3 separate regions of the Homo sapiens genome follow, and regions 1 and 2 are each linked to region 3. Evidence: promoter capture Hi-C in 16 types of primary human blood cells and fetal thymus (Javierre and others, 2016). All regions are on one chromosome and are shown on one strand. The core of a region is centred on a gene start or on the middle of the fragment in contact, and the rest is flanking DNA. Distances in the headings are between cores, read along the strand shown.

Region 1 (5,058 bases), core at 2,559-5,058, 300 kb after region 3:
CCACTCCCCTTTTCCTCTTTGCCAAGGTTGACTGAGAGAGTGTCATTGTGAAGTGACAGTCATACGATTGCCATGAGGAAGAACTTCCCAGGGGGACCGCTGTTTACATACTGGGGACTCTGCCCTCTTTTTGAAGAACCTTTTCTTCATAAAGAGTCTTGAGGCCGGGTGTGGTGGCTCACACCTGTAATCCCAGCACTTTGGGAGGCTGAGGTAGGAGGATCAGCATGAGGCCGGGAGTTCAAGATCAGCCTGGGCAACAAAATGAGACCCTGTCCCTACTAAAAAAAAATTAGCCTGGTGCAGTGGCACCTGCCTGTAGTGCCAGCTACTTGGGAGGCAGAGGCAAGAGTACCTCCTTTAGCCTAGGAGGTCAAGGCTCCAGTGAGCTAGGATCATGCCACTGTGCTCCAGCCTGGGTGACAGAGTGAGACCCTGTCTCTTTTAAAAAAAAAAAAAAAAAAAAAAAGGAAGAGGCTCAAGCCCCTCCCCCCAACTCCCAGCACCTTTGCCTTCAAGCTCTGTTGTGTCCAAGAGACAGACATTCATTCATTCAGTCAGTCGGTCAATCAGTGTTTCCTGACCCCTGAGCACATGGCAGGTACTGTGAGCAGTAAGGGCAGTGACACCCATCTGAGCCTGATGCTGAGGGGAATGTCAGGAGTAGATGTGCTGGGCAGAGAGGACCTGGGAGTAAGGCCAGCCCTGTTCCAGCTTTGAGACAAGTCTGAGGGCAACTGCCCCAGAGGCTCAGTGCTCTCGTTTGTCAAACTGGGTAAGAGAGCCCACCTTGTGGGTTGGTGCGGGAGGAAATCAAATCAGCACCGCAGGGATGGCTCCTTTCCCATCATCCCTGAGCCCGCTGGGCTGTTGGCCTGAGGGTTTTTTTTTTTTTTTTTGAGTCTTGCTCTGTCACCCTGGCTGGAGTGCAGTGGCGTGATCTCAGCTCACTGCAAGCTCCACCTTCTGGGTTCACACCATTCTCCCGCCTCAGCCTCCCAAGTAGCTGGGACTACAGGCGCCTGCCACCACGCCCGGCTAATTTGGTTTTTATATTTTTAGTAGAGACAGGGTTTCACCGTGTTAGCCAGGATGGTCTCAGCTAGTCTCCACCTCCTGACCTCGTGATCCGCCCCCCTTGGGCTCCCAAAGGGCTGGGATTACAGGCGTGAGCCACTGCGCACGGCCGGCCTGAGGGTTTTAAGGTACAAGGAGCAACTGTTGAATGGGCCTAGGGAGCCGTGGGACAGCCAGGGCTTCAGACAGGGTGATGTGAAAGGAGAAGAGAGCCTGGGAAATGGATAAGCAGAAGCCACGCCCCCCTGACCTGGGAGCCGGGTCCTGCCCACCTGTCCACGCAACCCCCCCAGGAACTTCAAATGCTTCTACCTCCCTGTGTGCTGGATGCTTCGGGACTATCATCCTAGAGATGAGAAATGGAAGCCCAGAGAGGCAAAGGCACTTGCTGTATGAAACACAGCATCAAAAAAGAAATTCTTAGGAACAAATGATGGGCAAAAAGACAAAACCCTGTCTCTACAAAAAAAATTAGCTGGGCATGGTGGCCTGTGCCTGTAGTCCCAGCTATTTGGAGGCTGAGGTGGGAGAATTGCTTGAGCCTGGGAGGTCAAGGCTGCAGTGAGCTATGATCGCAACACTGCACTCCAGCCTGGGTGACAGAGAGAGACTGTCTCAAAAAAAGACTTATACACGAAAACTGTAAGCTGGGCATGGTGGCTCACGCCTGTAATCCCAGCACTTTGGGAAGCCGAGGCTACAAGAGTGATAAGTAAATAAATGAATGAATGAATGAATGAAAGGACATCACAACCGAGGTTACCTGGCAGGGTTGATACGTTAGCCATGTACCCTGTGCACAGTGAGCCCTCTAGGAGTGTTGAAGCCAGAGTGCTTGGGGATGGGGCTGCTCAGAGGCTGGGGGTGCTGTGCCCACAGCAGCTGCCTGGGGCACTCTGGACTCTTTGGGTAGAAATTTTAGAAGGGCTCGCCGGGCGCTGTGGCTCACGCCTGTAATCCCAGCACTTTGGGAGGCCGAGGCGGGCGGATCACGAGGTCGGGAGATCGAGACCATCCTGGCTAACACGGTGAAACCCCATCTCTACTAAAAATACAAAAAATTAGCCGGGCGTGGTGGCGGGCGCCTGTAGTCCCAGCTACTTGGGAGGCTGAGGCAGGAGAATGGTGTGAACCCGGAAGGCAGAGCTTGCAGTGAGCCGAGATCGCGCCACTGCACTCCAGCCTGGGTGACAGAGCGAGACTCGCTCTCAAAAAAAAAAAAAAAAAAAGGAAAAATTTTAGAAGGGCTCAGATTGGGGGATGAAGGAGGGAGCCCAGAAAATCAGCAGCCTACCCCGCACCCGCCCAGCTTTTCCAGCTTAGTGAGCTTTTTCAGAGGCTCTTGTGAAACCACAGATGCCTAGCACCATCCCTACCCCGGCCTGAGGAGTTGATCCAGCCAGTCTGGGGAGGGCCCTGGCATCTGCATATGTAAAAGGTGCTCCAGGTGGTCTGGGACCGTAGATGAACCCTGACAGAGGCTGTCCAAGGGTGGGGCTGGTGAGCTCTACCCGCTCTGGAGCCCCAGAACATCCACTGGCTGCCTGCCCTGCTAAGGCCACAGCTCTACAGCACAGGAGGAAGGAGTGAAAAGAATGTCTGTGGCCGGGCGCAGTGGCTCAGCCTGTCAGCCCAGCACTCAGGGAGGCAAGGCGGGTGGATCACCTGAGGTCGGCAGTTTGAGACCACCCTGACCAGCATGGTGAAACCCCGTCTCTACTGAAAATACAAAACTTAGCTGGGCGCCTGTAATCCCAGCTACTCGGGAGGCTGAGGCAGGATAATCGCTTGAACCTGGGAGGCAGAGGTTGTAGTGAGCCGAGATCATGCCATTGTATTCCAGACTGGGCGACAGAGCAAGACTTCATCTCAAAAAAAAAAGAATATCTGCAATAGAACCACCTGATACCATTCCCCAAGTCTCAGTTTACCCATCTGTAAAGATAGGCCTGCAGGGCTGACCGTTTATTAGTCCAGACTTGACTTTGCATCTCCTCACTGCCAGACCTGGGCTGGGCACGGGCATGGAATGAAGATAAGCATCCCTGACCCCTGCCCTCAGGGTGGGGACTGGATGAGGATAGAAAAGTGAGACCCAGAGCTCCAAGGAAGCTAATGGCTGGATGCACGAGCACCATGGGGGCTTGGGGCACTGTCCAGGCCCCATTCTCCAATTCTGGGCCATACCCAGCAGAAAGACCGACACACGCAAGGAAACAAGACACTACTGGCCAAGCACGGTGGCTCATGCCTGTAATCCCAGCACTTTGGGAGGCCAAAGTGGGCAGATCACTTGAGGTCAGGAGTTCGAGACCAGCCTGGCCAACATGGTGAAACCCCATCTCTACTAAAAATACAAAAATTAGCTGGGCATGGTGGTGCATGCCTATAATCCCAGCTACTCGGGAGGCTGAGGCAGGAGAATCGCTTGAACCTGGGAGGCAAAGGTTGCAGTGAGCTGAGATCAAGTGACTGCACTCCAGCCTGGGTGACAGAGTGACACTCCGTCTCAAAAAAAAAAAAAAGATACGGTAAGTAAGAACCGACGGAAAGAAGAGCCAGATAAAGGACACAGGAAGACATGAGCTTTGGGCTCTGTCAGACCAGGTGCTTACTGTTTTGTGTTTTGTTTTGTTTAGTTTTTTGAGATGGAGTCTCACTCTGTTGCTCAGGCAGGGGTGCAGTGGTGTGATCTTGCCTCACTGCAACCTCTACCTCCCAGGTTCAAGTGATTCCCCTGCCTCAGCCTCCTGAGTAGCTGAGATTACAGGCACGCGCTGCCACGCCCGGCTAATTTTTTTTATTTTTAGTAGAGATGGGTTTCACCATGTTAGCCAGGTTGATCTCGAACTTCTAACCTCAGGTGATCCACCCGCCTCGGCCTCCCAAAGTGCTGGGATTACAGGCGTGAGCCACCGCGCCCAGGCTGATGTTTATTGTTTTTAAGGAAGCAAGAGGAGAAGGTGCCTCCCCAAATGACCTTTCTCTTTTCTGTCCACAGACAGCAGCCCTCTCGTGGGCAGCACGCCCACCGGTTATGGGACCCTGACGATAGGGACATCAATAGATCCCCTCAGCTCCTCAGTTTCATCCGTGGTAAGTGGGCAGAGTGGGGTGGGGAAAAGCTGCAGGGGGTGAATGCCCAGGCCCACCCAGACACCCCAACTTCCTACTCCAGCCCCGTTCCCACCCCGACCTGGGCCCTCTCTCGCTGCGTTCGCAGAGGCTCAGCGGCTACTGTGGCAGTCCATGGAGGGTCATCGGCTATCACGTCGTGGTCTGGATGATGGCTGGGATCCCTTTGCTGCTCTTCCGTTGGAAGCCCCTGTGGGGGGTGCGGCTGCGGCTCCGGCCCTGCAACCTGGCCCACGCCGAAACACTCGTTATCGAAATAAGAGACAAAGAGGTGAGAGTCAGGCTGAGCCTGGGGCTAGAGAAGCGCAGTGAGGGTCAGGGTCGGGGGTGGAGGATGCTTGGGTGCCAACCCGGCCACTGACTTTCCATGGGACATTAGGCAGGTCCCGCTCTTCTCTGGACCTCAGCTTTCCCATCTGAGCATTGGGCAGAAGGGACGGGTCGGGTGGTTTCTGGAGGGCTCTCCATAGCCTTGATTTCTGCCTTCTCCAGCAGGGGCCGCCTGGCTGTAGGACAGGGCCTGGGAGGGGAGGGGACTCTTCTGAGACTGAGTCCATACCTCTGTGTTCCAGGATAGTTCCTGGCAGCTCTTCACTGTCCAGGTGCAGACTGAGGCCATCGGCGAGGGCAGGTGAGGCAGCCCCATTGCCCCTTCCCAGAAGCCCCTGCTACCCTGGCCTCCCCAACTTCCCCAACCCTCGGCCCCCCCATAAAGGCTGACTCTGGCGCCTCCCATCCTAGGGAGGGAAGATGGCTCTGTGAGCACAGGGAGGTGCCAGGGCAGCTCCCAGAGCTCGAGAGTAACCCTCACCTGCTTCCCCAGCCTGGAGCCGTCCCCACAGTCCC
Region 2 (4,851 bases), core at 545-3,044, 270 kb after region 3:
TTTAGCAAGGCTGCAGGATGTAAGGTCAATATGCAAAATACTATTTGTGTGTGTGTGTATTTCAATGGCTACAGATAATTCTATTTATGCTAACATCAGCCATTCAAAATTTTACTGGAGGCTTAGCCAGGGAAATTGGGTGAGAAAAAGAAAGAAAAGGAAATTGGAAAAGAAGAAGTAAAACTGTCTCTCATAGATAACATAATCTTTTACACAAAACCTTGGGCAGGCTCAGTGGCTTGTGCTTATAATCCCAGCATTTTGGAAGGCTGAAGCAGGAGAATTTTTTTTTTTTGAGACAGAGTTTTCGCTCTTGTTGCCCAGGCTGGAGTGCAATGGCACAATCTTGGCTCACCGCAACCTCCGCCTCCCGGATTCAAGCAATTCTCCTGTCTCAGCTTCCCAAGTAGCTGGGATTACAGGCGCCTGCCACTACGCCCAGCTAATTCTTTTGTATTTTTGGTGGAGATGGGGTTTCTGCGTGTTGGTCAGGCTGGTCTCGAACTCCTGACCTCAGGTGATCTGCCCACCTCGGCCTCCCAAAGTGCTGGGATTGCAGGTGTGAGCCACTGTGCCTGGCCTGAAGCAGGAGAATTGCTTGAGCCTGGGAGTTGGAGACCAGCCTGGGCAACAAAATGAGACCCCCATCTCTACAAAAAAGCAAACAAAAAATTAGCCAGGCTGGGTGCGATGGCTCACGCCTGTAATCCCAACATTCTGAGAGGCCAAAGCAGGCAGATGACTTGAGTCCAGGAGTTCAAGACCACCCTGGACAACATGGCAAAACCCTGTCTCTACTAAAAATACAAAAATTAGCCAGGCATGGTAGCACACACCTGTAATCCCAGCTTCTTGGAAGGCTAAGGCACAAGAATTGCTTGAACCTAGGTGGCAGAGGTTGCAGTGAGCCAAGATCACGCCACTGCACTCCAGCCTGGGCAACAGAGCAAGACTGTGTCTCAAAAAATTTGCCAGGTGTGGTGGCACACTCCTGTAGTCCGAGCTACTTGGGAGGGTGGGGTGGGAGGATCACTTGAACCCAGGAGGTCGAGGCTGCAGTGAGCCATGATTCCATGCCCTACACTCCAGCCTGGGCAACAGAGGGAGACGCTGTCTCAAAAAAAAAAAAGAAAAGAAAATATAAGACATTGCCCCCTAGGAACTATTAGAACTAATGAACAAATTCAGCAAGGTTGGAGGACACAAAACTGGTATACAGAAATCAAATGTAGTTTAGTTTTTTATTATGCATAATTTGTCCATGTTTATTTCAACCTATGTCTGTCAGTCTTCATTTTATATTGTACCATGTTTTAATTATAGTTCTATTTCCTTCTAATCCGACTCTGAAACCCTACTTTGTAGCTATGTATACACACACAAAAAATAGCTATATTCTTTCATTTTCACAACAGCATAATTCTTTTTCTGAAAATACTGGCGTGTAGCAGATATTAGCAGATAAATGTATTTTTCTAGGCTAGGCATGGTGGCTCACACTTGTAATACTAGCACTTTCTTTGTGAGGCCAAGGCAGGAGGATTGCTTGAGGCCAGGAGTTTTGAGACCAGCCTGGGCAACAATAGCAAGACTTAGTCTCTACAGAAAAAATGTGTGTGTGTGTGTGTATACATATATATTTATATATGTATTTATATTTATATATTCATATTTATATAAATATTTATATTTATATATTCATATTTATATAAATATTTATATTTATATATTCATATTTATATAAATATTTATATTTATATATGTAAAACCCTGCTTACCTAGAAAAAAGCCTGTAAGTACTGTTAAAAAAACAAAAATTGGATTTCTATACACTAGCAATGAACAATCCTAAAATGAAATTTAAAAACTATTTTCCATATAACAGCATCAAAAAAGAAATTCTTAGGAACAAATTATATGGGCAATAAGACAAAACCCCATCTCTACAAAAAAAGTTAGCTGGGCTTGATGACCTTCCTGTGCCTATAGTCCCAGCTACTTGGAGGCTGAGGTGGGAGAATCACTTGAGCCTGGGAGGTCAAACCTGCAGTGAGCTGTGATCACAACACTGCACTCCATCCAGCCTGGGCGACAGAGTGAGATCCTGTCTCAAAAATCAAATAAGTAAAAGACTTATATGCTGAAAAACTGTAAAACATTGTTGAAAGAAATTTAAGAAGACATAAATAAATGGAAAGACATGCCCTGTTTGTGGGTTGGAAGACTTAATGTTGTTAAGGAGGCAGTGGTCTCCAAATTGATTTCCAGATTCATTGCAATCCCCATCAAAATCCCACCTGCCTTTTCTGCAGAAGTTGACAAGTTGATTCTAAAAATCTTATAGAAATGCAAGGGACCCAGAATATCAAACAATTTTGGTATCTATGTAAAATCTGAGAAAATTTATGTTGTACTCTTTAATGAGCCCTACCTATTAGGAAATTTAGCATGAAACAGCTTAAAGAGAGGACTTTGACTTTTTAATATTTTTCTCTGTCCCAGTATGATCTGCAGGATTACTTTTTACCTTTGATTTGAATTTATTTATTTATTTATCTATTTATTTATTTATTTTTTTGAGACAGTCTCGCTCTGTCTCCCAGGCTGGAGTGCAGTGGTGCGGTCTCGGCTCACTGCAACCTCCGCCTCTGGGGTTCAAGCAATTTTCCTGCCTCAGCCTCCCAAGTAATTGGGACTACAGGCACGTGCAACCACACCCAGCTAATTTTTTGTATTTTTAGTAGAGACGGTTTCACCACGTTAGCCAGGATGGTCTCAATCTCCTGACCTCATGATCCACCCGCCAAGGCCTCCCAAAGTGCCTCCCAAAGTGCTGGGATTACAGGCGTGAGCCACCCACCTGGCCAATTTGAAATTTTTATAGGCTGCAAATATTAGCCTTTGTAATGTAAAAAAAACAAAGATGTTGTTGTCATTTAAAATATGCTAGGACAAGAACAGGCAGATCATTAGAATAAAAATGTAGCAACAAAACAGACTCAATTTTATCTAAGTTCCCAGTATTAAATATGGGAGAAAGGTATTACAAATAAGAAGCAAAAGAGGATTTAGTCAGTGATTTGGGACAACTGATACAGTTTTTGCAGTTTTAGGGGAGTAACTTAAAATTTTTTTTAAGTAGAAAAAAATGTAAAGTATTTATCAGACCTCAGGAAGGGCAGTGGTCTGTTTAGGCTTAAAAGTGATAGATAATGTTATAAAAGAAAGAATAGCCACCTTTATTAATGTAAACATTTAACTCATGTATGTTTAAAATTCTGTTACCAAAATTAGAAGTCAAATAGCACATTACTATTGGCAGTGAGGGAGGAAGCAGAAATGGCAACAGATATAATATATAAGAGCCTCAGATCATGAAAAAGAATTTCCAAGACCCTGGTAAACAGAGGCAAAGAATGTGGACAGACTGAGTCTCTAGAATGAGTCCTCTGGAACAGAGCTTTGTGCGGGCAGGTGGTATTCGTCTCTTTTATTCTCTGCTACATCCCCAGCATCTAGAACAGAACCTGGCAGAGTAAATGTTCAATAAATAATTGGGAAATAAAGAAAAATTAGTAAATTTATGACAAACATTCAACCTATGTAGTATTCAAAAGTCTCGATTTAAAACACTGAAAACAATAACACTTCTCCAGTATCAGAATAGCAAAGGTTTTTAAAGCTTCCAATTCCCAGTGTTAGCAGAGGTCCAGCAGAAAGGACGTCTACATAGTGCTGATACAAATACAGATAATGGGCCAGACGCAGTCGCTCACACCTGTAATCCCAGCATTTGGGAAGGCTGAGGCAGGTGGATCACTTGAGGTCAGGAGTTTGAGACCAGCCTGGCCAACATGGGAAAACCTATCTCTACTAAAAATACAAAAATTTGCCGGGTGTGGTGGCATGCACCTGTAATCCCAGCTACTCGGGAGGCTGAGGCAGGAGAATCGCTTGAACCCGGAAGGTAGAGGTTGCAGTGAGCCGAGATCGCACCATTGCCTCACACCCATAATCCCAACACTTTGAGAATCCAAGGCAGGAGGATCACTTGAGTCCAGGAGTTAGAGACCAGCCTGGGCAACATGGCGAAATCCCACCTCTACAAAAAAATACAAAAATTAAGCTGGATGTGGTGGCACATACCTGTAGTCCCAGCTACTGGGGGGCTGAGGCAGGAGGATCTCTTGAGGCTGGGATGCGGAGGTTACAGATCTGAGATCGTGCCACTGCACTCCAGCCTGGGTAACAGAGCAAGACCCCGTCTCAAGAAAAAAAAGAAAAAAAATGAAATACAGATAGTACTAAAGGAAATGACGTATTTTTAAGTATATTTTTAATCTCATGCATAGAAAATTAGTGAGTGGAATGGGGGCAGGGTGGCAACCAGAAAATAGATTTGTGGAGCACTTACTGTATGCCAGGTACTATGAAAAATTACATATTTTTATGTAATTTTCACAGTAACCCTGTGGTGTAAATATTAACTCTACAGATAAACTGAGGTTCAGAGAGTAATTTCCGTAGAATCACAGTTTCTGCATGATGATTATTATAGTTAAACTATGATTTATATGTCAGATGCTGCTGTAAAGATCTCGTGTGTATTAACTCACCTCCAGCAATCCTGTGGGATGCAGGTGCTGCTCTCTGCACTCAGTGGATTAAATGCCTAGGCAGAAATTAAATCATTTGCCTGCAAGCTGGTAAGTGGCTCAGCCATGGTGCAGACCAGTCTCTTGGCTGCCAGGCCGGCACTCCAGGTCCCACGCCCAGGGATGCTCCGCTTAGTACCATGTCACTGCCCTTGTATGTTCTAGGAGGCTCACAGTGATTTGACTGGGGGACTGT
Region 3 (4,472 bases), core at 802-3,301:
TCTTGGAGCCTCTGTTTCCTCTTTTGTAAAATGGGAATAACAACATTACCTGCCTCCCAAGGCCATTGAATGAGTTGAATGTAGGAAGTGTGATGTAAATATTAGCCATTGTTACGTGAGATGTTCAGGGGATAGAGTGACAGGCTCAACGTGTGGCTGAAGGAGGAGAAAAGAAGGATTTAGAGGCCCCTGTGAACTCCGGAGTCCCCATCCTTTCTGGGAGAAATGGGCAGTGCCTTCCTCTCTGCCCAACACTGACCAGCTGTCCACCCACCTCTCTAGGGCCAGAGGAAGCACTTGTGATCTTGATTACTACTCATGGACGCTGGGTAGAGGGCTAGCCTGGGCATGCTGGGAGAGGCCCTGGGCTAGCTTCAGCTCCTGTCATTTCCTTCACACCCATTCTCAGAGGAGTTGGGGGCGCCTCAGATGATGTCAGGTGATTTTCTTTTTCCTTTTCTCCCCAACTTCTTGGTCTCCTGCCTCCACCATGTGGCCCTGGGAGACCATCCCGACATTTCCTGCTGTTCTCTGGCTGCTGGGGCTCAGGCAGTAGCAAAGAAATGTCCCCGGCACTCCTGTGGGCACCATTCTAGGGCCACCGATGCCCAGACTGGGATGGGGAAGCCAGGGGCAACCACTCCTATTCCTGACAACAGCAATTGTTGCAGGATAATTTAGGAATCAGAGAGACCGAGGGGTTGAGGAGGATTTATTATTTAGATTCACTGGCTCAGTCAGGCTAACATTTCAAAAGACTGAGCCCTGAACAAAGAGTTAAGTTATCTTTTAAGCATTTCATGGGGCGGGGGTAGATCTGTGCAGGGGGAAGCATATTATAGAGGCAAGAAACAAAGACAGTTATTTAATTGAGACATGCATTATATTATTTTTTACTTTTTAAGGAAAAAAATTTTTACAGCTTGAGTTTATCTGTCTAGTGACCTTGCAGCTGCACAGCTGGAGAAACAGGGTCTTTACAATGCCTGGAAAAAGAGGAGCAATAAGGCTCACTAGCCACAAAAAAACAGGCAGTTAATTTTTAAGGGACTCCAGCTCTTTTTTTTTTTTTTTTCCAGGGAAAATTGTTTTTTTTTTTTTTAACATAGAACTGAGTTTTTGCTTACACGTTTTAAAATTTCTTTTAATTCCTGTTCTACAATAACAACAATGACCCTGCACACTCCCCGAGAGCATTCCTCAACTCTCTTGTTTAACCCAGACCCTGCCACAGAGCATGGCACTCAGCATTTGTTAAATGAGTAAATAAAAACTACCAAGGATGGGCCCACCACTGTGCTAAGTACTCAGCCAACATCTGCACATTTTTTCACATTGAATTCCTATAACCAGCCCATGATGTGAGTATTATCCCCATTTCACAGATGAGGCAACTGAGGCTCAGTTGCCCAAGGCCTCCTTGCTAGCCAGCAGCAGGTCCAGGCTTCCTACCTCAGTCTCTGCCGCCACAGAGCCCCGTTTCGCCATCCCCACCCACGCTATTATGCACCCACTGAGGGAGGCTTAGCTAAGAGATGTGGGGTAACAAACTGTGCTGTGAACCAGGAGGCCCAGGGGCTAACCTTACTTCCAGGGCACACGTGCTGTGTGACCTTGAGCAAGTCACAGACTCTCTGTAAGCTTCTGTTGCCTCGATGAAGACAGGGAGATGGATGGCCTGGTTTGCCCCATAATAATTTATCTGTCGTGTGTTCCTGGGGAATTTGCACTTGTACATGGCAAAGAACCCACAGCCATGAGACTGGCACTTCCCAGGGCTGCTGGGGTCTTCTCTCTCCAGCTACTCCCCTGGCAGTGGCTGCAGAGGCTGGAGCCTAGAGCCTGGGCCAAACACATGCTCCTGTGTCAGTAGAACTGGGTCATCCAGCATCTCCTGACCTGCCTCCAAAACCCCAGAAGGCCCCCCTCTTACCTGCAGATGTCAAGCTGAGTCAAGGTGCCCAGCACACACACGGCATGGGTGGGCTGCTCTGGGGTCACACGGATCAATGTCCCCTGGGCCATCGTCGGGCTAGCTCGTCCCTCTGGCTGTAGGAAGCCCCTGGGCTGGTTCCTTTATATCGCCCAGCAGAGGCCATGAGTCAGCACCTGCGGTCTGTGGCCCAGAGGCTCAACCCCTCCCCACTCAGGTCAGGGGTGTGGGCTCTCAAAATCTCCTCTGCCCTGGGGCTGCCCCTCGGACCTCTAGATGGGTGTCAATGCTGGTACCAGTGGCAGGGTGGCTCTGTCAGTTTCTTGGGAAGGATGGATGGCTCAGAAAGCCTGGGGTGGAGAGTGGGGCTGAGGGGTTGGGTCCTGGTCCTCATGCCCACAGTCCCATCCCTGCCTAGAGGCCCTGAACACCTTGATCTATCCAATCTCACCTATGTCAAACAGGCATATCAGAGAGGAGAAGGTGGGAAAAGCGGGGAGATTTTAGGTAAGCAGTCACAGGCCAGGCTACACGTTCAAAGACCAACCAGGCTTGGGACAAGTCTCTCCACCTGGGCCACCCACATGACAGCTCACATTCTCTATGCCAGGCACGTTTTCCTGCACTTCACATAGAATAGCTCATTACGACAAACCCGTGAACTAGATCATACCATTATCCCCTTATTTCACCCTCACAGCAGCCCTCTGAGGTTGGTGCCATTATTATACCCATTTTACAGAGGAGAAAACAGAGGTGCAGTTCTTCCACAGCTCGAGAGTGGTAGGGCCAGAATTGGAACCAAAGGTGTCCAGTTCCAGAGTGTGAGATTCATTAGCTGCCTGTCTATATGACACGTGCTTTCCAGACTGTATCACAGCTACATCTCGCTACAATACAAGGTGTATATGGGCTTATTATTACAACCCATTTTACAGAAGGAAAATTGAGGCTCAGAGAGTAAAAGTGACTAGCTCTTGCCCAAGGTGCCAGAGCTAGAATGCGGCAGAGCTGGGAAGAGAAGATGAGCTTCCTGGCATGGAAGTTGATGTTCTCTGCATGCTCCAGGATACCTGCCTCTTGCCAGGGCCTCTGGGTGTCAGACCAGACAGTGCAGGTGTGGGCCACGCCTGCCAGGGGGATGCCCATGTGGCCTCAGAGCTGTGGTTGCACCTGGGCCATTGGTGCCAGGCTCTGCCTTTAATGAGGCAACTGGGGGGTGGTGGATGGGTCCCAACAAGGAGCACTCAAAGGGTGCATGCATGGGAGTCTGGCGTGAACATAGAGCGTTTCGTGGGTTGGATATCTTGCGTTTGTTTTTTGTTTGCTTGCTTTGGCTTTGAAGCAAAGAATTTGCCTCATTAATTCAGAGTCAGGCTGTGGGATCAAACAGGCTTTAGTTCAAATCCTGCCTCATCTCAACATCCCTATGGAGTGCGTCCTATCAGGATGCCCATGTGTAGATGAGACCACAAAGACTTAGAGAGATTGAGTGAGACCCCCAAGGTCTCATAAGCCCTACAGTGGGGATCTGGATTCAGACCACCTTCTCTGGGCTCAAAATTTATCTTCTGTACCAGCAGATGATGATGTGGCCAGGTCCGACGTTCTGACGCATCTACATGACTGCCTGCACACAGTGTTAATAAACCCAATTTCTCTGGCTGACCGCATGATTAGAACTAGTTTGAGCTTCTACTGGGAAGTGGCAGGAGGGAGCTGTCCATTGTTAGAGTTGGGAGGGCCCTTAGAGAACACCCAATCCAGTCCTCGTTTTGCAGAAGGGGAGACTGAAGCACAGAAAGGGAGTGGGACCTGCCCACGGTCACACAGCAAATCAGAGGGAGGGCTGGCCTCTACCCCAAGTCTTAGGTCTCTTGAGGTTGTTTTCTTCTGTTCCTTCTTTTCTTTCTTATTTTCTTCAGCAGTTTGGGGTTTAAATTTGCTGTGAACGAGCCACAAAGAGGACGAGCCCCAAAGCAGTTTTGTTAATTCAACAAATACTGACTGAGTGCCTATTGATGGCCAGGCACTGTTCCAGGCACCGTGGATACGCTGTGAACAAAGTGGACAAAAATCCTGCCTTCATAGAGCCTTTTTGTTTGTTTGTTTTTGTTGGGAGAGAGACAGCCAGTAAGCAATAAATGCAGTAAGTGGATTCTATCGTATGTTAGTGGGGTAGAAAAAGGAAAAAGGACAGGGTAAAGGCTACCAGGAACACAGGGAGAAGGTTCCAAGTCAAGAGAACAGCCAGTGCAATCGGTACAAAGGCCCTGAGGCAGGGACATGCCTGGCGGGTTCAAGAAAGAGCAAAGAGGCCAGTGTGGCTGAAATGCAGTGAGGGAGGGGGAGAGCAGCCCAGGGCGGGGTGCGATCATATAGGGCCTTTCGGGCATCCTAAGAGCTTTGGCCTCTGCTCCAAGTAACGTGGGGAGCCTGGAGTCATTTTGAGCAGAGAAGGACCGCGAACCAACTTGCTTGAACGTGATCACTCTGGCTGTGATGTGAGAACAGACTGTAGGGGACCCGGGAGGAGGCC

The links. Contacts are between HindIII fragments. The CHiCAGO score rates a contact against its expected background, and 5 or more counts as called.
Region 1: a contact is called between a fragment that was not itself captured here and the fragment with the promoter of PADI4 in region 3, in 1 of 17 cell types (neutrophils). The highest score is 6.5, in neutrophils.
Region 2: a contact is called between a fragment that was not itself captured here and the fragment with the promoter of PADI4 in region 3, in 1 of 17 cell types (neutrophils). The highest score is 9.7, in neutrophils.

What each region holds. Positions count from the first base shown.
Region 1 is chr1:17,004,799-17,009,856 of GRCh38, reverse strand. It overlaps ATP13A2 (ATPase cation transporting 13A2), which reads left to right. Exons shown (of 29, transcript NM_022089.4): 2 at 4,079-4,173; 3 at 4,301-4,483; 4 at 4,785-4,843; 5 at 5,036-5,058. Among named protein-coding and RNA genes, the nearest start is that of ATP13A2, 4.6 kb to the left of the region's middle. The HindIII fragment of the contact is 8,825 bases long and covers 1-5,058 here.
Region 2 is chr1:17,033,585-17,038,435 of GRCh38, reverse strand. All of the region lies in intron 2 of SDHB (succinate dehydrogenase complex iron sulfur subunit B), which reads left to right. Among named protein-coding and RNA genes, the nearest start is that of SDHB, 18 kb to the left of the region's middle. The HindIII fragment of the contact is 3,780 bases long and covers 1-3,684 here.
Region 3 is chr1:17,305,776-17,310,247 of GRCh38, reverse strand. It overlaps PADI4 (peptidyl arginine deiminase 4), which reads right to left and starts at 2,051. Exons shown (of 16, transcript NM_012387.3): 1 at 1,934-2,051. The coding sequence starts at 2,025. The HindIII fragment of the contact is 10,543 bases long and covers 1,644-4,472 here.